6 separate regions of the Homo sapiens genome follow, and all the other regions are linked to region 2. The links are contacts of gene promoters, found by promoter capture Hi-C in blood cells and fetal thymus (Javierre and others, 2016). All regions are on one chromosome and are shown on one strand. Each heading gives the region's core, a stretch centred on a gene start or on the middle of the fragment in contact. The rest is flanking DNA. Distances are from core to core; before and after follow the strand shown.

Evidence for each region. The method cuts DNA at HindIII sites, captures the fragments that hold promoters and counts their contacts. A CHiCAGO score of 5 or more calls a contact.
Region 1: a contact is called between a fragment that was not itself captured here and the fragment with the promoter of FAM135A in region 2, in 2 of 17 cell types (fetal thymus and total CD8 T cells). The highest score is 5.6, in fetal thymus.
Region 3: a fragment that was not itself captured here is called in contact with the fragment with the promoter of FAM135A in region 2 in 3 of 17 cell types (activated CD4 T cells, fetal thymus and naive CD4 T cells); the score reaches 6.3 in activated CD4 T cells.
Region 4: a fragment that was not itself captured here is called in contact with the fragment with the promoter of FAM135A in region 2 in 2 of 17 cell types (total CD4 T cells and activated CD4 T cells); the score reaches 5.8 in total CD4 T cells.
Region 5: a fragment that was not itself captured here is called in contact with the fragment with the promoter of FAM135A in region 2 in 2 of 17 cell types (fetal thymus and total CD4 T cells); the score reaches 7.2 in fetal thymus.
Region 6: a contact is called between a fragment that was not itself captured here and the fragment with the promoter of FAM135A in region 2, in 2 of 17 cell types (fetal thymus and total CD8 T cells). The highest score is 7.6, in fetal thymus.

The regions. Positions count from the first base shown.
Region 1 is chr6:70,892,967-70,896,205 of GRCh38, forward strand. B3GAT2 (beta-1,3-glucuronyltransferase 2) reads right to left here. Exons shown (of 4, transcript NM_080742.3): 2 at 1,162-1,306. The region is part of intron 2 of LOC105377850 (a long non-coding RNA gene); the gene reads left to right. Among named protein-coding and RNA genes, the nearest start is that of B3GAT2, 62 kb to the right of the region's middle. The HindIII fragment of the contact is 932 bases long and covers 1,078-2,009 here.
Region 2 is chr6:70,411,713-70,415,251 of GRCh38, forward strand. FAM135A (family with sequence similarity 135 member A) reads left to right here and starts at 1,796. Exons shown (of 22, transcript NM_001162529.3): 1 at 1,796-1,990. It overlaps FAM135A-AS1 (FAM135A antisense RNA 1), which reads right to left and starts at 2,246. Exons shown (of 2, transcript NR_147708.1): 1 at 2,125-2,246; 2 at 1,116-1,350. RefSeq lists silencers at 1,603-1,822, 2,163-2,312. The HindIII fragment of the contact is 2,225 bases long and covers 826-3,050 here.
Region 3 is chr6:70,710,199-70,713,405 of GRCh38, forward strand. All of the region lies in intron 1 of SMAP1 (small ArfGAP 1), which reads left to right. Among named protein-coding and RNA genes, the nearest start is that of SMAP1, 44 kb to the left of the region's middle. RefSeq lists an enhancer at 3,000-3,049. The HindIII fragment of the contact is 1,146 bases long and covers 678-1,823 here.
Region 4 is chr6:70,733,810-70,737,096 of GRCh38, forward strand. The region is part of intron 2 of SMAP1 (small ArfGAP 1); the gene reads left to right. It also overlaps the pseudogene NDUFAB1P1. Among named protein-coding and RNA genes, the nearest start is that of SMAP1, 68 kb to the left of the region's middle. The HindIII fragment of the contact is 6,398 bases long and covers 1-3,287 here.
Region 5 is chr6:70,859,333-70,862,782 of GRCh38, forward strand. SMAP1 (small ArfGAP 1) reads left to right here. Exons shown (of 11, transcript NM_001044305.3): 11 at 868-2,671. The coding sequence ends at 1,002. It overlaps B3GAT2 (beta-1,3-glucuronyltransferase 2), which reads right to left. Exons shown (of 4, transcript NM_080742.3): 3 at 2,498-2,646; 4 at 1-2,417. The coding sequence ends at 2,331. Among named protein-coding and RNA genes, the nearest start is that of B3GAT2, 96 kb to the right of the region's middle. The HindIII fragment of the contact is 5,480 bases long and covers 1-3,450 here.
Region 6 is chr6:70,820,262-70,823,808 of GRCh38, forward strand. The region is part of intron 6 of SMAP1 (small ArfGAP 1); the gene reads left to right. Among named protein-coding and RNA genes, the nearest start is that of B3GAT2, 140 kb to the right of the region's middle. The HindIII fragment of the contact is 215 bases long and covers 1,691-1,905 here.

The sequences.
Region 1 (3,239 bases), core at 294-2,793, 480 kb after region 2:
AGCTGGAGTAACAGAGGGATGGAGAGGTCAGGGGCCTGAGACATGGCCTGGCTGAGGGCTGGTGCTGTGGAGATGTGTGTTAAATGTTGAGTAAAAATCTCCTATTTGTCCTCTCCCACGATGCCATGTGACAAGACCCACCACACAGCTGTCCATGAGCGCTGTGCCCCTCAGATGACTCCTGGTATTCTTCGTCCTCTGGCTCCCTCAGATTTATAGTATTGTCAGAATAAAAGTGATGAATCCAGTTCAGAAGACAGCCTCCATCCCATCAGAATTCTGAACGCGGAGATCTTGACTACGGCTGGGAAATATGCACAGAAGATGGGGCAAGCACAGGCTGGCAGCCCGACAGAGCTGTGCTTCAGAGCTCAAGATTGATGAGATCAATTTTGAAGCCTTTCTGCCTTCATTTTTAAGAGTATAGATGTCACCGAATTTTTTTTTTTTTTGCCTCTGAGCCTCATGTTTCAAACTCCATCCTTCCACAGTTATCACAGGCATCATTTTCTATAACCCATAGAAAATGAGTTGTTTTATGATAAAGTAGCATTTTAGAACGTGTGGTCCTACTGCAGGGCTAATTCAATTCAGTTGGTTGTTCAGGGAATAAAAACTTTAAGACAGTTATACTCAATAAATTCTTGAAATACCAGAAATCTAAGTTTATATTTTAGTATTAAATATATCAATAAAGCACTAAACCTATCAATAAGCATTAAAATGACTTGTCAATTTTTATATCATTGTTAAATTTATCAATAAACATGATATATTTTAATATATCAGTCTTCTAGAAAAGGGAGTCAAAAGGTTCCAGCTAACAGACCCCTGGAAGGCAGGAGCCAGGTCTAGCTCTCACCACCGAATCCCCAGTGGCCAACCCAGTAGCTGCCATGTAGACGCTTGTGGGATAAAGGCACAGACAGGGGACAAAATGGAACAGAAAGGGCATTTTCTAATCACCCTCCAAATCAATTTCCACTTGATCTAACCAAAGAGCCTATTTTGAAGGTTTAAATATTTCATCTCCTGAATATGATATGATGTAGGGTTTTATCCAAATTTGTCTTTTAAAGCTTCCTTCATCTAGTGCATCGTTATAAACAAGAGCATAAGAACAGTCCAGCAGGAACAAATGTCATCACCCACACTGCTCACCTGCCATGTCGATGGCAAAAGGCCTGTCTGCTCTCCAGCCGGTGTACCAGCCAACAACTTTGCCGTTTTCCACCAGCGGACGTTCGTAGCGCCGCCCACCAACCAGGCCCACAGGCCAGACGGAGACCTTGCGGGTGGTTCGCATCTATAAAAAGGGAAAAGACATGTGTTTTAAGTTTCCTTAGGAAAAAGAGGGAGGAAATGAATGTGATCTATGTAGAAGAAGTAGGGCTGGTAGTGGTGTAAGATTTCAAAAGCTGAAGGTTTCAAAACAGAATCCTTCTGCTGCTAGAGTATGGCCCCCATCTGTTAGGCTGGCTGCTGTGCCATGATCTCTACTCGGTCATAAATTGGGCTAGGGCTCAAGGTTTAGGAGAAATAAAATGGTTGTCAATATCTGGACATCGCTGATTTGAAGCTAAGTTGCAACTATCAGATATTTTCCTATTTGTTTCAAAGTTGAATCTTTAAACAATACTTCTATCTTCCGAGGTGAGAAAGTTTAATTCCCCTTTAGGAAACTTCATTACTCAGGAAGAACAAAAACTTCAGAGAAGTCACAGGAGCGTCCTTTCTCTGACTTTTCTATTGCTATACATACACAGAATTCTTGGCTGGGGACATTAATAATGGGATCCAGATACAGACCTGAACCTGGCTTCTTCCAGAGTGATAAAAAGAAACACATACCCTAAACATTTGCCTGCCTTTTAAGGGCAATTGGGCCAAACTAGAGACCGTTGGAATCGCTTGTCCTTGTTACACACAGTGGAATCCTGGTTAAACATGACGCTCAACTGAAAGTTACTAGCTGGATTTCTTTAAGGGGAAAGAGATGCCCACAAGAAAGCTTGCTGATATTAGGCAGCACTGTAGGAGAAAATCGCTACCACCACCTTTTTCCAGGGCTCATGCTGAACAGCTCAAAAGGCATCTTAGCATAAACTAGAAAAAGGTGCCCCTTTCTCGGGCAGACACACCCCATGCTGGAGCCCATAGCTTGGCAAAGTACAAGCTGGACTTAAGCTCCACGCACCCTCACAGCTGGGTGTGCCTTGGACGAGGTATAACCTGCACAACTGCATGAGGTGGTCTTGTTGTTGAGGTAATTATAATTTCAACAGCAGTGCTTTATCTTTTATTTGCTATAGAACTGAACTGGGTCATAATCAGTTAACCAGTGGTTAAATAATGAACATCAACCAAGGAATTTTTTATGAAAGGAAAAAAATGATATACCTTGGAAAGATTTTCAAATACAATAGAAATGAAAGTCACAATATTAAAGAGTAAAAATAATTAGAAGCTCCCATTAGCCAAGCTTCCTGGTTTTACTTATTATTATCCTACCTTGTTCCAAAAAGGGGATTTTTTTTTTTTTTTTTTTTTTTTTTTGGAGTCAGAGTCTCACTCTGTTGCCCAGGCTGGAGTGCAGTGGTGTGATCTTGGCTCACTGCAATCTCTGCCTCCCGGGTTCAAGTAATTCTCCTGCCTCAGCCTCCTGAGTAGCTCGATTACAGCCACCCACCAACACTCCTGGCTAATTCCAAAGAGGGGATTTAAGGGTATGAAGCATTCCAGGTAATGAGGTTCTCACTGCATTGGTCTGCCTCAAATCTAAAGTTACTATTTTTTATAATCTCTTATCATTTTTTCAATAAATGAACTGCAACTGTCTTGTGCTAACTCACACTAACTTTTACAACTTTTTTTTTTTTTAACAAGCTGAGGTATAAGTGACTGCAGAAAAGTGTTAACAAGCCTGAGACTTTATCTAAAGCCTTATCTTTAGAAAGGTCTGCTTGCAAGGCTTGCCCTTGGCTAGTGTCCGGGAACACAGCTTTTGAAACATTTCCTACCCTTATAAGGTTATTTTATCTGTCTGGGGCACTGAACAACTGCTTTCCTTTCAGGAATATGAAATATTGGTGGGCAAGAGTGCCTATGTGACAAGCCCTGAACAAAAACCCTGAACTCTTGAGTCTTAAGTGGGTTTCCCTGGGTATAATCATTGTACGCCTGTGACTACATTTTCACTACTGGAGAGGTGGTATGCTGTGTGTGATCTCAGAGGGAGG
Region 2 (3,539 bases), core at 546-3,045:
AATAATGCAAACACTCCACCCAAGTTCTTTTTCATTCATGTTGGTATCTTCCAAGATTAGCACACTGCCTGGCACACAGCAGATGAGTTAACAATGTGATTTGAATAAAAAGAACGTGGAACAGGGAAAGAATCTTGGCACACTGTGTGTTTTAGGGATGCACGGACGTGGAAATGCAAATAATTGGTTGTTTACTATATTTTCCTAAGACATGGCTGGAACTAAAAAAAAAACAGAAAAAGCCTTTCCAATTTTGAGGCTAAAGTTCAAGTCACAAAACAAGCAATAAAAGCCTGTTTAGCAAGGATAGTAAAATGGTATAGGGCTATAAAAGAAGGGACAAATTAGAAATCAGGAAAGCAGGCCATTCATACAAATGCAAATAAATTGGTTCACAGGATAAGAGGACACCCAATCATGTAAAAACTGGTACAAGCCAGGCACGGTGTCTTAGGCCTGTAATCCCAGCACTTTGGAAGGCCAAGGCGGGTGGATCACCTAAGGTCAGGAGTTCGAAACCAGCCTGACCAATATGGTGAGACCACGTCTCTACTAACAATACAAAAAGTAGTCAGGCGTGGTGGTGTGCGCCTGTAGTCCCAGCTACTAGGGAGGCTGAGACAGGAGAATTGCTTGAACTCCGGAGGCAGAGGTTGCAGTGAGCCGAGATCACATTACTGCACTCCCGCCTGGGCGACGGAGCAATGCTCTGTCTCACACACACACTCGAAAAAAAAAAAAACTGGTACAAAGATATATTCAAAACCTGTCCCCTAAATGGCCTACGTTACAAGACCTCACCATTACTTTCAAATGAATGCACAAAGCTTTTCCCTTCTAATTCATTCTTATTGTGGTAAAATATACATAACAGAAAATTTACCATTTTAACCATTTTTAAGTGCACAGTTCAGTAGCATTATGTCCATTCATTGTTGTGCAACCAACACCACTATCCATCCTAGATTCATTTTTAAAACAAGAGTCGCAGCTGAAATTTTCCTTTCATTAACTCAGCTTTAGCAACATACTGAACTTTATGCACCACAAAAGTTTTTGCCAGATAAGGTTCAGAAACAGGGAAGAGTGAAATAAATCAATGATCCTTCGTGGGCTTCTGTTAACGGAATGTATTAGCGAAAGGCTTCACTTCATCAGCCCCCTCCCGCCCTTTTTGGCGTCATAAACCAAGAAACAACCAGATCAGCACCCACATCTCCCAAGATGCAAACACTGGGTCCCGAAAGGCATCTGTCCTGCCCCGGCGCAGATCCCCTGCAGCCTCCTTTCCTACTGCACAAATCGACTAGCGCAGGGACCGGGCTCTCTACCCGGGACTGCACGGAGGAGCTAAAGAGAGAAAAGGAGAAACAACATTGTGAGAAAAACGGCTAAAGTTCTCGAACTCCGTGTTTTTGCCCTCTTCTTGTTCACTACTCTTCAACCACCTCCAAGTTCCATCCCTTAAACCCACAAGCGAGCCCCTTTTCTTGACGCGCGCCTTTTATTGACGCAAACCTCCCGTTCTCGCGGGAACTTGGGAACGGGAGCCTGGTAGGGAGGACAAATCTCTCGAAATCTCAGTTGGCGCTGGAGCTGGAGGGGCAGTTGAAGCTCCTGAAGGGCGGGGCACGGAGCTTGAAGGGGCGGGGCCTAGCCTCAGAGAGGGGAGGGAAGAGGCGGGAGGAGGAGGTGAGAGAGGCCGGGGGCGGGGCCGTGCGGCCGGGGACCTGTTGATCGCAGGTATAGCCGGCTGGCCCGGGCTCCCTCGGGACTGGGGCGACTGCGCATGCTCGCTGGCCGCGCTGGGCCAGTAGCCGAGCCGCGGTGACGAACCGGCTCCGCGGTTGCGGTGTTTGCGGTTGCTGTGATGGCGATGTGAGGGGGCCCGGGGCGGGATGGTGCTGACCCGGGTCGGGCCGTCTTCTTGCAGCTGGACAACGAGCTCCTCCGTTCGACAGGCGGGGGAAGAGGCCGAGCCGGGCGAGAGGTAACCCCCTTACTGTCCCCTCTGGCTCCCCCGGCTCCCGACACCCACGACCCCTCCCTCCGTCCCTCTTGCCCAGGGGCCAGGAAGGAAGCGGCCTCCTCTTCGTCCGCCGTTCGCCCGCCGCGGCCCCTCACCCGACTGCTGGCGGTCGGAGCCTGGCCCCGGCCCCGTTGAAGGTCGGTGGGGACGGCGGTGCGGAGCGCTCTGAGGGAGGCGAGGGGCCGCGGCGCGCTGCTCTCCCGGTGCCCGCGGCCGCCCCTGCCCCTGCGCGCGTCCCTCGACCCGTTCTTCCTGAACCTCGCGCCTAGCGTGTTTGCCCTTCACCCCTGCTCCATCTTCGTCGCTCTGTCCCTCCTTTACCCGCTTTCGTGGTTCTGCTTTTTCATCCCGCGCCTCCCACGTGTCTTTTTGCCCGGGTGGTCCCTCCTTGGGAAGCAGCGTATCTCTGTGCTTCCATCCCTTGCCTGGCTCTTCCCTGTCCGGAGCTCCTTACCCTGGCCGACCAGGTTTCTCACTCTTGTTACCTCCATAATTTCTTCCTTGGTTTTATTTTCCTCTCATCCACCTCCTTTCGGTACTTCCTCCTGGTTCCCTTTTTGTTAGTTGCCGATTGTGTTTTGCTTTAGCATCGCTTTGCATTGGAGTTCATTCCATGCCCCATCTTAGCTTCGGAAACCCTCACTGCCTTCTCTTTCCTCTGGTACCCTGCTTCATCGCTTTCTGTCTAATGGCCCCTATCCTCACGTCCTTTTCCATTCTGCACCCAGTGAGTCTCTAATCTTAATTTTTTCCCCTCCAAAACTCTTCCACCCTCCCCCCCCCATTTGTATAAGTCAAGCCTCTTAACTTCATTCCATTTGTTTTACTTTTTATTAAATCTCTGAAGACTTCTTTGTGACATACCCTTCTAGTCCTTGCTGCTTTCTGCCTAAGCTAGGTATCCACTCAATGTTTCTAGTTCATCTTCCAGTTTAATAACATTTCTTCTTTCTTTACCGGTTGGTGGAAGTATCATCAAAAGAGTGACAGTAGCAACAAATCGGTTACACTTACTGATTAAAGCTTTAATTTTTAAGAATTATGTTTACCTGGCATGCCTGGGAAAGCAACTTGAGTACAGACTAAATGAAACTATAATGGGTTAAGACTTGTTAAAGGTTGACCTACAAACATACACTTAAAATTTGGAAATTTTCTTGTCCTCCATTAGGTGTAGCTGTCCAAGAACTAATCTTAAATGAAATTTAACAGAATTTCTTTTTTAAAATGTATTATTAATTTGTTTTATACATTTGCTATTGCAATTGATTGCATAATTTTCCTGAGAGTCTCTGTTCTCTAATAAATGCATACAATTTCTGCTACCTTTAGAATTAGTGTGCTTATAGGAGACATACGTGAGAAGTATTAAATTTTTTAATTGAGCAGAAGAACTTTCTAAACGGTTTTGTAATTTTTTTCCTCCATTGCATTGTGATCAAGATTTGGCTTAAATAAAACTTCTCTTTCCATAAATAATGGTATAGTATCTTATTTTGAAGGCATCTGC
Region 3 (3,207 bases), core at 1-2,500, 300 kb after region 2:
AGATAAAAAACAGGCTGGGTGTGGTAGCTCACGCCTGTAATCCCAGCACTTTGGAAGGCTGAGGTGGGCGGATCATGAGGTCAAGAGATAGAGACCATCCTGGCCAACATGGTGAAACCCCATCTCTACTAAAAATACAAAAATTAGCTGGACATGGTGGCATGCACCCGTAGTCCCAGCTGCTCGGGAGGCTGAGGCAGGAGAATCGCTTGAACCCGAGATTGCGTAGGTTGCAGTGAGCCGAGATTGCGTCACTGCACACTCCAGCCTGGTGACAGAGCGAGACTCCCATCTCAAAAAAAAAAAAAAAAAAAAAAAGGGTAAACGGCATACACATATAGGGCACTTACCATGATTGGAGCTTGCAGAATTGGCAGTTGCTCTGGGTAAGTCAGTGAGTGAATAGTGAATGAATGTGAAGGTGTAAGACATTACTGTAGGCTTTGTAAACACTGTACACTTAGGCTAGAATAAATTGATATTAAAAATTTCTTGATAAATTAACCTTAGCTTACTGTAACTTTTTATTATCTAAAAACTTCAAAAATTTTTTAAACTTCTTGACTCTTTTGTAATAACAGTTTAAGACACACGTTGTACAGCTATACAAGGCATTTTCTTTATATCCTTATTCTATAAGCTTTTGTCTATTATTATTATTGCTTTTTTACTTTTTAAGCTTTTTTTGTTCAAAACTAAGACACGAACACCCATATTAGCCTAGGACTCCACAGGTTCAGGATTTTCAGTATCCCTCTTTCACCTTCACATCCTATCCCATGGAAGGTCTTCAAGGGCAATAACACACATGGAGCTGTCATTTCCTATAATAATAATGCTGTCTTCTGGAATACCTCCTGAAGGGCCTACCTGAGGCTATTTTACAGTTAACTTTTTTTAATAAGTAGAAGGAGTACATTCTAAAATAACAGTAAAAAGTATAGTAAATACATAAACCAGTACCATAGTCATTTATTATCAAGTACATAATTGTGTGTGCTATACTTTTATTCAGCTGGCAGTGCAATAGGTTTATTTACACCAGCATTATCACAGACATGTTAGTAATTTGTTGTGCTACGATGTCACAATAATTACAATGTCTCTAGGCAATAGGAATTTTTTATTTCCATAATAATCTCATGGAACTGTTACTGTAAATGTGGTCTGTCATTGATTGAAAGGTCATTATGCAGAGCCTGACTGTATTTTATTCCTTTTGTTGTGTTTTCTCTTTCAGATCGATCACTATTGGTATAAATAAATGCAGCTGATTTTTGTATGTTGATTTTGTGTTTTACTTTACTGAATTAATTTATTAGCTCTTTTTTTTTTTTTTCTTTTTTGAGACAGAGTTTCACTCTTGTCACCCAGGCTGGAGTGCATTGGCGCGATCTCTGCTCACTGTGACCTCCGCCTCCCAGGTTCAAGCGATTCTTCTGCCTTAGCCTCCTGAGTATCTGGGATTACAGGCGCCTGCCACCATGCCCGGCTAATTTTTGTGTTTTTAGTAGAGATGGGGTTTCACTATGTTGGCCAGGCTGGTCTCGAACTCCTGACCTCAGGTGATCCACCTGCCTCGTCCTCTCAAAATGCTGGGACCCGCACCTGGCCTAATATGTATATATTTTTAATGGAGTCATTAGTATTTTCTACATAAAGGATTACGTCATCTGCAAATGAGGATAATTTTACCTTTTCCTTTCTGATTTGGATGCTGTTTATGTCTTTTGTAGGATTGCTCTTGCTAATATTTCCAATTCTGTGTTCAATAGAAGTGGTGAGAATAGATATCCTTTCCTTGTACCAGATCTTGGAAGAAAAGCTTTCAGTTTCTCCCCCACAGATTATTATGTTTGCTTTGAGTTTTTCATAAATGGCCTTTATTATGTTGAGGAAGTTTCCTTCTATACTTATTCTGTCGAAAGTTTTTATTATGAAAAGATGTGGAACTTTTGTCAAATGCTTTTTTGTTCATTTATTGAGATGATCATGTGGCTTGTATCATTCATTCTGTTAATGAGGGGTAATCACCTTGATTGATTTGTGTATGTTAAGCCAACCTTATATCCCAGAGGAAAATCCCACTTGGTCAAAGTGTATTATCTTTTTAATGTGTTGTTGAATTTGGTTTGCTGGTATTTTACTGAAGATTTTTGAATGTGTGCTCATCAGAGATATTGGCTTACAGCTTTCTTTCCTTGTGGCATCTTTGTCCAGCTTTGGTACTACCCTGAGGGTGATACTGGCTTCATACTATGAGTTTGGAAATACTCCCTCTACTTATTTTTTGGAAAACTTCAAGAAGGATTGGTGTTAATTCTTCTTTGAGTGTTTGGTAGAATTTAGCTGTGAAGCCATCTGGTCCTGGATTTTTCTTTGTTGAGAGGTTATTGATTACTTCTTTCATCTCTATTTGTAATTTGACTGTTGAGGAAATTCTGTTTCTTCTTGATTCAGTCTTGATAGGTTTTATGTTCCTAGGAATTTATCTGTTTCCTTTAGGTTATTCAATTTATTGGCACCTAGTTGTTTATAAGTAGTTCCTTATTTTTTTTTATTGCTTTTCTTTTCTTTTCTTTTTTCTTTTTTTCTTTTCTTTTTTTTTTTTTTGAGACAGAATCTCACTCTGTCACCTAGGCTGGAGTGCAGTGGCACAATCATGGTTCACTGCAACCTCTGCCTTCCGGGTTCAAGTGATTCTTTCCTCAGCCTCCTGAGTAGCTGAGATTACAGGCATGTGCCACCACACCTGGCTCATTTTTTGTATTTTTAGTAGAGATGGGGTTTCACCATGTTGGTCAGGCTGGTCTTGAACTCCTGACCTCAAATGATCCACCCACCTCGGCCTCCCAAAGTGCTGGAATTACAGGTGTGAGCCACTGCACCCATCCTGTGATTTTTTTATATTTCAGAGACATCCTTTGTAATGCTTCCTCTTTCATTTCTGATTTTTAGTCTTCTCTCTCTTTCTCTTAGACTACCTGGGAGTTTGTCAGTTTTATTTTCTCAACAACCAACTCTTAGTTTTGTTGATTTTTTTTCCTGTGGTTTTTCTATGCTTTATTTGATTTATCTGTGTTTTTTTACTTTCTTTCTTCTGCTAACTTTGGGTTAAGTCTGTTCTTATTCTAGCTCCTTGAGGTGTATAGTTAGGTTGTTTATTTTGAGATTTTTTTTAATGCAGACATTTATCACTACAAAATT
Region 4 (3,287 bases), core at 412-2,911, 320 kb after region 2:
AGGATAAAACACGAGATCCTTCAACAGTTCAGTTATTCAGAAATATTTTTCTCAATTAGGTTGTTGAGAGGAAATGAATAGCAAATTATTTGAGATGGGCAGCTGTATAGCTTAGAGTAGAATTTTGTAATCAGAGGGCTGCAGTTCACTGGTTTTCTTTGGCATAGGTTACAAGTACATGGCAATATATTGGATTTTTTTTTTTTTACAATGTAAGGATTTTAAAAACAGTTATTAAATAATAATATTTGAAATTGTATTTGAACATTATTTGATTGCATTTGCCAACTTCTTGATAGGAATTGCTCTGTCTGGCCCCCCTCCCCTGCTCTTCCCATCTTTTTTTTTTTGAGACGGAGTCTCACTCATGCTATTGCTCAGGCTGGAGTGCAGTGGTGTGATGTCTGCTCACTGCAGCGTTTGTCTCCTGGGTTCAAGCGATTCTCCTGCCTCAGCCTCCCAAGTAGCTGGGATTACAGGTGCGTGCCACCATGTGTTGCTAATTTTTGTATTTTTATTAGAGGTGGGGTTTTGCCATGTTGGCCAGGCTGGTCTCGAACTCCTGACCTCAAGTGATCTGCCCACCTTGGCCCCCCAAAGTGCTGGGACTACAGGCATGAGCCACTGGACCCGGTCTCCTGTGTTTCTTTTTAAAAAATTGAGGTAGGAAATCCTGGTCGGGGTAGCCATGGCAGCTTGTGTCTGCCACCTGCCCTTGGCCATCACACTGATGCACCGGGTCCCGTGCTGGCCACAGCCTGCTGCTCAGCATCGCCTGTGCTCTGTGGGGACTCTGATGAGGCTGGGGCTTTGCAGCTGGCTCCACAGCGGGCTTTGGTGCTTGCGCACGTGCTGGGTAGAAGTTACACAGTCGTGCTGTCAGTATAGTGACTTGCCCCCTTTGATGTTAGAGGGAATCGAAGACTGTCTTCTTTATATCTTGAAACCCTGTGACAGGATTGACCCAGAGAAGCTCTCAGTGAATTCTTACTTTATGAAAGACCTGTGCTTGGACAGTTTGGACCAAGTAGAGAGTAAGCATGGTCATGGAAGATAAATTTGGGTTTGAAATTCCTGGTATAGATATGGAAAAGTTAATATGTCCACAAGAAATTGTAGATTATATTGCAGATAAGAGAGATGTATATGAATAAAATATCAGACCCTTTTGCTTCACTGGGAGAAGACTCAGATGATACTGGTGAGTGTCTGGAAGTGAGAATGCATTTTGGCATTATTGCTGACTTTGGCAGAGTAATTCTGTTAGACCTGGGTTTAAATTGTGTAATTGTTTTACTCTGAAAATAAACGTATAAAACCAAAAAAAGAAAAAACTTGACTTATAATTACAGAGAGAACAGTTCACAGATCTCATTTAGTTTTATGAGTCTTGGCAAATGTCTGTATGATGTCACCAATACCCCAGTGAAGATAGAGCATTTCTGTCACACTAGAAAGTTCCTTCATGCCAATTTCCAGTCAAGTCCCCCAGGGGCATACACTACACTGATTTCTATCCCATTGGGTTAGTTTTGCTATACATTAAAATGTCTGTCTTTTTGGAGGCTGTTCCTATTAACTTTGACGTTTAATTCAGATGGGCAAAAGTGATGATCACAATGTGATATAATGTTCCATATTCATATGATATTTTATAATAATTTCTTTGATATAAAAAGTGCTTGAGGCCAGGAGCGGTGGCTCACTCCTGTAATCCCAGAACTTTGGGTGGCCAAAGTGGGCAGATCCGAGAGTTTGAGACCAGCCTGGCCAACATTACGAAGCCCCGTCTCTACTAAAAATACGAAAATTAGCAGGGTGTGGTAACACACACCCGTAGTCCCAGCTACTCTGGAAAGTGAGGTGGGAGAATCACTTGAGCCTGGCAGGTGGAGCTTGCAGTAAGCCAAGATCCTGCCACTGCACTCCGCCATGAGTTATAGAGTGAGACTCAGCCTAAAAAAGAAGTACTTGGGAGGTATTTATTTATGGAACTAAGAGAAATACTTTTACTGTACATAGTTACATAGTTATACCCTTTGTCTTTCCCTGCAACATTTCATAATTGTGTTTCTAATTTTCAAAGATGATACTGTTTTGGCTAGCTCTATTTTTTTAAAAATACCTTTTATTAGTAAATATGGAAACATGATTTAATCTTTGAGCCCAGTCAAGCTGTTAAATAAAAATGTTCTTTGTGTGTGTGTGTGTGTATAATTCTGTAAAATGTAAATACTAAGTTTTTCCTCAAGGTTACTTATAAACTGATATTATATGTACCATATTTTTATCTGTTATTTATGTATATGTTATGTGTTTCAGTTTTTAGAGCACAACATGTACAGCTGTTAGAATTGCTGTATGCTTATTTTTAAAAGAAAATAGTTGTTACCCAAAACTTACTTTGATTTTTAATAACATAGAAATAAAGTTACTCACTGTAAAAAAGTCTTAAAAGTTCTTTTAATGTGGTTCATGGTCAGATTAATTGTGTTTGGTCTTGGGTTTATTGTCACGTACTTCTCAAATTTTTGGAAAGGACCAAGTTTTTTATACTTTTATAAATACTATAGCTTCCTTCCCCTCCCCCCACCCAAGATATTATACATTTGGGTGGAGTAAAGAATGGAATACCAGAATTAACTGTTGTTTTATAGCAGTATCAAACAAATCCCTGTATATGCCATATGGATACAGGAAACAAGGATTTATGAAATTGTTTCAGTATGGAAATTTGGTCTATAGTGATAGTTATTAATGTTTAGCATTTGTAAATATTAAGATTAGTAGATGTCTTTATTCTACTTGCAGCTTGACAAACTAAAATTGAAATAATGAGCTGTTTGGAAAGAAAGTTAATGTCATTGTTCCAGTTACTCTTAAAAACTTGTATATTCTATGGTTCTTACTCCTTTCTCCCTTTTACTTCTGTGTTCTTAATTCTTTTCTTGCTTCTGCTGCTTTCTAGTTTCATTTCTCCGACAAGTCCAAGGCTTTGCCTTATTTCTGATGTTCTCATCAGTGTCACATCTCCATTTGTTTTACACAGTGCATTCAGAGTAATTTTCCTAGAACATTGCTTTGGTTATTTTACTTCCATCCTAAGAAATTTGCATTGATTCTTCTGTGAGACTCATAAAACTTTTTATTTTCATTAAACTGGTCTTCATGTTCCTCTGCCTTCTGGCTTCATCATTTGTCTTTGACCTTACTTCAGATGCTTTACAACAAATAGCTTTGGCTGTACCAGACAGTTCTTTCTGCTGAAACAATCTGATAGTGTGTTC
Region 5 (3,450 bases), core at 730-3,229, 450 kb after region 2:
TGCAGAAGGGTGATGCTGTTCTCCAGCACTCCATCAGTGCAATCTACTGGCCAATGACAAGGTGGTTAAAATGTCCTTTAGTAGGTATGAAGACGTGATCTGCTTCTTCAGACACTTATGCCTGATTAGTGATGTAGTTTATGTTAGTGTCTTTGAAACTGTAAATAAGTCAAGTCAAATGTATTAAATTAAGAACACAGTCTAACTCTGAGTGTAAGTTTTAAACCCACTCACTATATGGTAAATCTTGCCTTTCCTTCTCTTATCACCAATTTTGGAAGTAAGAGAATCACAGGGTTAAGATGCTTATATATATATATATTTGACTCCAGTCTTGAAGAAAAATACATGTAATCTTATGCTTTATTGCATACAATGAAAATAAATTTTAGATGTTTATGTTGTTAGATCAGCGAGAGAAATAAATGCTTTATGACCACTTTAAAAATATTTAGGAAGTATATAAGATTTTAATAGAGAATAATATCTATCATACAAAGTTTATAGGATAATTTTAGACTATTTTACTTCCTAAAATTTTCTTACTCCTTAGTAGTTAAAGCACAATATCCTAGTGTAGGTGAAAGTTAGTTAGAGTAGCGGACTCATTAAAATCCCAAGATTGCTTTGGTATTTTTTTTTAAGTAAGTTGTGGTTAATCTTTGGGGAAACTGTATCTAGAAAGTAGATAAAGAAGGGAACAAAGTAGCTATTTGCTTTAAGAAATATTTGTATGGTACTCTGTTTTTATTCCAGTGCTTGGACTAGTTGTCACATTAATGAAAAAATGACCAACTGTGTGGCTAAAGAAACAAGAATTAAAAGTGAAGTAAGCCTCTTGAACTAAGCCTTTTATATGTTTCACAGATGAATCAGCAGATGGCTGGCATGAGTATCAGTAGTGCAACCCCTACTGCAGGTTTTGGCCAGCCCTCCAGCACAACAGCAGGATGGTCTGGAAGCTCATCAGGTCAGACTCTCAGCACACAACTGTGGAAATGAAAACTGCAATACAAGTTTCATCCAGAACTACCACCTGACATTCCTTGCTGAAACGCATCTAGTTCCCCTGTTTATTCATATGCATATTTTTTTTCTTTTTACCCATTTGTTCATATTAAGAATGATCTGATTGACCGTGTTGGTCTGTACTGATTCAATTTGATGTGGTGAAAAGCAGGTTGATAAATCATTTTATGTCAAGGGCAGCTTTGCTCATATTTCCCATGATTTCATGTACTGCATTATTTGAGAAGCTGCTCAACTTGCAAAATCAGTTTTCCTCTCAATAAAATTATAGCTCTAATGTTTGCATATAAGGGAAGTAGTTATCATGTTAGTAATACCTCTAATAGTATAAACCCCACCCCAAAATTAGCCAGTAATCCTGTAGGAAGGTACTGTATGATCAAATGTTTAATCATATAAATAGAATGTAAATGTCTCACTGAGCACTGTTTTCTAGTGTATCAAAATGCTCTTATTTCATCATTCACTTCACTGTGCTGTTGTTATGATGTGCTTAACAGGGAACGTGATTAGTGAAAGGAAGATAAACGTGGATGTTACTCCAAAACTTCGTTTAATGAATGCTTAAAGAATTCAAATTTTATCTGCCTCTCTTGTAATTTGGATCTCTTCTTAATGTACATAGTGCTAACATGAAGACCTTTTTCTGCACTATATGCAAACAGGGTAACTAACTAAAACAAAGCCACTTTCAATCTTCAATCCTTGAAGGTATATCTAGGTTTATGACAGTAATTGTGTTTACATTTTATGGTGCCTAGTATTGACAAAATGTTATTTCCCTACATTAAACATGACTCCATAGACCTTTTCATTTGTGGGTTTTTATTTCCTATGATGTATACTGCCACTAACCTTCCAAAAATTACTTAGTATTGCAAAGTCAGGAATCATCAGGAACGTTTAGCTGACAAAATACTTGTCTGTTTTAAAAACCTGTTCAAGTCTACCAACCTGTTCAAGTCTACCAATTATAAGGGCAAATTGGAGAAAAAGAAAAAATATATACTCAAGAGTGGTATCTTGCAGTATCGGCACTGTACAAAAAAATCTTCCAATTTAGTTGTTGTAGAGAAAACATGCAGAACAAATGAAGACAAAACATACATTTTGTACCAACCATCCAATTAGCTTATGTTAACTGACAAGCTCCATTTAAACAGATGTCCATCAGATGACAAGAAAGGCTGCTGTACTGAAGTAAAACAAACAATACCTGAATGCTCTGTAGCCTAAACTCCAAACATCCTCTTCCATATGGATCCACTGGCTGGACAAACTGCACCAGTTGCTGCTTCAATTTATACCTCAATTTTCACTGTGTCCAGGTGGTACTTTGGCTCGTTGGCTAGATTAACCTTCTCTGTCCGAGTGTGCCACACGAGAACCTGAAGGGGAAGGAAATAGCTTGGGTAGCGCACTCTTCATGGTGACACTCGAGGTCGGGCAGCACAAGTGTAATGAATACCTTAGTGCAGTTATTTGCTTTCGGTTCCAGTTCTTCGACTGTTGTTATCTGTTTGAGAAAGTCAGATTCTTGCATCCCTGGCTGGGATCCACGACGCTTAAATACAGCTTTTGGATTGGACAAAATGACTTGAAGACTTACAGCAAATCCTTTGTGAAAAATAAAAAAAAAAAAGAGACTTTAAAATCCTGGTGTACTTCTCTTTTTTTCTGTATAATTTTGGTCACATCAAAACAGTTTTTAAAATACCTACTGTGTGTCAGGTCTTGGTTTACAAAGTTGAATAGGAACATTACCTGTATTACAGTCTCAAAGGAAAATCAGTCATTACAATATTTTACATTCCGTGTAAAATAAAGGCGTGCACAGGAGCATCTACGCAAAATAGGAAGTTTAGTCTGTTGATAATAAAGGGTGAATTTTATAAGCTGCTGTTTCACAGTGATCATCAACCCCCCACATTTGCCACTAGGAATAACTAAGAAATAAATGCAGCTGAAAAACATACATGCTTACCTAACTACATGTGGGGTATGAGACCACATGCCCAGCTCTCCTGCCTGCCCTGTAATATTAATTATGTATGCTTCCTTAAATCCAGCACTGCTTGGATTCATTTTGCATTTAGAAGAGGGAGCAACAGAAGTAAAGCCGATTAGCTGGAAAATGAATCATACCTAATTTTTAATCATCTGGTTTATATTTCTAATTTGGTTCAATCTAAAAAGGGTATGTGGGGCAGAAATCAGTGCAGGAGATATCAGGCCATCATCTGATAAAGTTTTTTTTTGGTATTTCATTTACCAAAAATAAGTGTAAATTTTCTTCAATGGTTTGGTCATACGAAAAATCATTACTGGCTGGGCACAGTGTCTCACATCTGTAATCTCAGCACTTTGGGAGGCCAAGGCAGAAGGATCTCTTGAGCCCAGGAGTTCAAGACCAGCCTGGGC
Region 6 (3,547 bases), core at 548-3,047, 410 kb after region 2:
AGATATTGTTTATAGATTTTCATGTCATTTTTCTATAGGTAATAGTCATAATTGATGTTATGAGCTTTTTAATTAAAAAAGAAAAGGAAACTCTTTAATTTGATTGTGATAACTATGGTATGCCTTGATACAGAGACTAGAGAAATATTATGAAAACTTTATTATTTAGGCCGGGTGCAATGGCTCACGCCTGTAGTCCCAGCACTTTGGGAGGCCGAGGCGGGCGGATCATGAGGTCAGGAGATCGAGACCATCCTGGCTAATGAAACCCCGTCTCTACTAAAAATACAAAAAATTAGCTGGGTGTGGTAGCAGGTGCCTGTAATCCCAGCTACTCAGGAGGCTGAAGCAGGGGAATTGCTGGAACCCAGGAGGCTGAGGTTGTAGTGAACCGAGATCGTGCCACTGCACTCCAGCCTGGGCTAAGAGTGAGACTCCATCTCGGAAAAAAAAAAAAAAGAAAACTTTATTGTTCAAGATAATTTGATCAAGTGAGAGAGAACTTCCATCTAAGACAGTCTAGCAGATTTTTTTGGTTATTTTTTCCCATTTAATTTTGCAGAGTGTGTTGATTTGCTTTTTTATAATAAGCATTATTTAGAAGTTTGCTTTTCGACTCTTATTTTTAAGTAGGCCAAACTATCATACGTAAATAAACTAATTAATACAAACAGTAACAGTGGTTCAAGGGAATAATCAATAGCTGCTGGATTTAGACCTTGTAAAGTCTAAAGTTTGATTTCTGTATCCTTTTCCTTAGTAGATATCACTCTAGGTAGCACTTGAAGTTCCTGTTAGGATTTCCCCCCCTCCCTGCCCCATTTTCTCAAGATGTCCTGTTTTTAAAGAGAAAAATTAAGAGGATTATTAAAAACTTTGAATCACTATTTAGATTTATATCAACAAGATTAAGTTTTGTCTGTTTTTGAGTTTCATGTAAATGTAATCATACCATGCAACTCTTCCTCTGTATGGATTCTTTTGCTGATCATTGCGTCTGTGAGATTCATTTATGTCATTGCATTCTCATTTCTTATTGCTGAACATTCTTCTATTGTCTGTCTACATATGCCATACTTTTTTTTTTATTCTGCTGTTAGTGGACATTTGAGTCGTTTCTGGCTTAGGACTTCAATGAGTAAAGCTGCTATGAACATTCTTATAAATATATGGCATTGTCATGAAGAAAAATATCCTAGTGAGTATAGAAACTAATCTTTTTCTTATTCTGTGCTAATCAAGAGTACAGAATTTCCTGGCAGTTGAGAGGTTATCTTTAAATGAGTAAATTTAATTAGCCTGAAAAAATATTGACTACTACGTGAAGAAAGCTCTTTCAGCCAAGATGGTTTGCTCTGTTCTTACTGTTTTGTTTTACCTAGTTTTAAAAAGAGCGAATTGAATACCTAAAATAAGAATTATTACTTAACAGAAAGCAATAGCAAGATGATAGTAACTTTATTTTGTTAGTTAAATAACCATTTACTACAATGCCCGCAAGCCTAGAAGAAGAAACCCGCCAGAGATGTAATAGCTTTTTAACACTTGCTTATTATCAAAGTAACTGTGATGATAAAGAATGTGTAGGTTGTAGCAGAAAACCATATTTTAGGTTCTATTACAGGCTTGTAGTAAATTGAAAACATTTTTTTCTTCATGGAATTTCTAAAATGTTTTTGCAATCATTTGAAGCTTTATTGCAAGTGAGGCAATAAAAAGGGAAGAAATCCAATTACTTTATGTGCAGAGCTTTCATTTCCTAGTTAATGAAAGAAAGGCTTTTGTTCACTAAGCATGCATGCTTTACAGTTCTTCTTAGTAAATTAGAAATTTCCTGAAATAGAAAATTAGGAAAATACTTCCTGAATATATACACTTTGATAGAGGGTAGTTTTACTAAGTTAAAGCTTATACTTAAGAATGTTGCAGCCCAGGTGAAAGGGTCAACAATTAGATTAGATGGGTCATTGAAGGTAATAAAAATAGCAAGCACATACTTTGTGCTTAATGTTTGTGAGGCATTGTTCTAAGCTCTTTAAATATATTATTTCGTAGTCCTCACAATAGTTATATCAGGTTGATACCATTATTATTCTCCTTTATGATGAGAACCTGAGAGACAGAAGTTTGGCAATTTATTCATGGTCACACAGCTATTGAGTAGTGGCTGTGCTGAGAATTGAATATGATCAGTCTGCCTTCAGAATATGTATCCTTAACCAATATGCTATATGGCTTTTCAGTCTATTTCTATAACATCCAAAAATAGGAATGGGAAGGAAAGAAGCAAGAAAAGGTAAGGGCAAAGGACCTCAACTCTGTATCTTTGATTTTCTGCAGTTTGAACATGATGTACTTGGGTATAATTTTTTGGCCTTTTATCTTAGTTGGTGTTCTCTGAGCTTCCTGGATGTGTGGTTTTGTATCCAACATTAATTTTGGGGAAATTCTGTCATACTGTTTCAGATATTTCTTACGTTCAGTTCCTTCTTCTCCATCTGGTATTTCCATTACATGTATGTTACACTTTTTTAGTTGTCCCACAGTTCTTGGATATTCTTTTCCATTTCTTCAGTGTTTTTTTTTTCCTTTGCTTTTCTGTTTTGGAAGTTTGTATTGATGTATCCTCAAGCACAGAGATTCTTCCCTCAGCTGTGTCCAGTCTCCTAATGAGCCCACCAAAAGCGTTCTTCAATTCTGATCTCTTTATTTCTTTTTTAATCTTTCTTAGAATTTTCATCTCTCTTTATATTACCTATCTATTCTTGCATATTGTCTACTTTTTCCATTAGAGCCCTTAGCATACTAATGATAGCTGCTTTAAATTCATGGTCTGATAATTCCAACATATCTGCCATAATTGAGTATGGCTATGATGCTTGATCTTTCTCTTCAAACTGTGTTTTTTACCTTTTAGTATGTTTGTAATGTTTTAATGAAAGCTAGACATGATGTAGTGGGTGAAAGGAACTCAGATAAATAGGACTTTATTAATATTTCGGGGGAGGGGAAGTGTTCTATAATCCTGTGATTAGGTCTCAGTCCTTTAATGAGCCTGTGCCCCTATGTTATATACTTCACAAGTGCCTCTATCCTGCACCCCTTAGGTGAGACAGGATGGCTGGAGGGGAGTAGAATTGGGTATTTTCCTTCCTCTAGGTAGGTTAAGCTCTAATAAAACTCCTAGCAGGTCAGGCTCTGGTAAAATAGTTTCTCTTCAGGGCAGGCCTTGTTAAAAAGAACAGAATGTTCCATCATATTTCAAAATACAGTTGTCTGTTGGTATTCATGGGGCATTGGTTCTAGGACCCCCTGCAGATACCATAATCCACAAATGCTCAAGTCCCTTATATAAAGTGTCATATTTGTGTCTAACCTATGTACATCCTCCCATATACTTTAAATAATATATAGATTACTTATAATACATAATACAATGTAAATGTTATGCAGATTGTTAGGCTGTTTTTTAATTTGTATTTTTTGTTGTATTATTTTTTATTTTTATTTATTTTGGATATTTATAATCTGTGGTTGGTTGAATTCA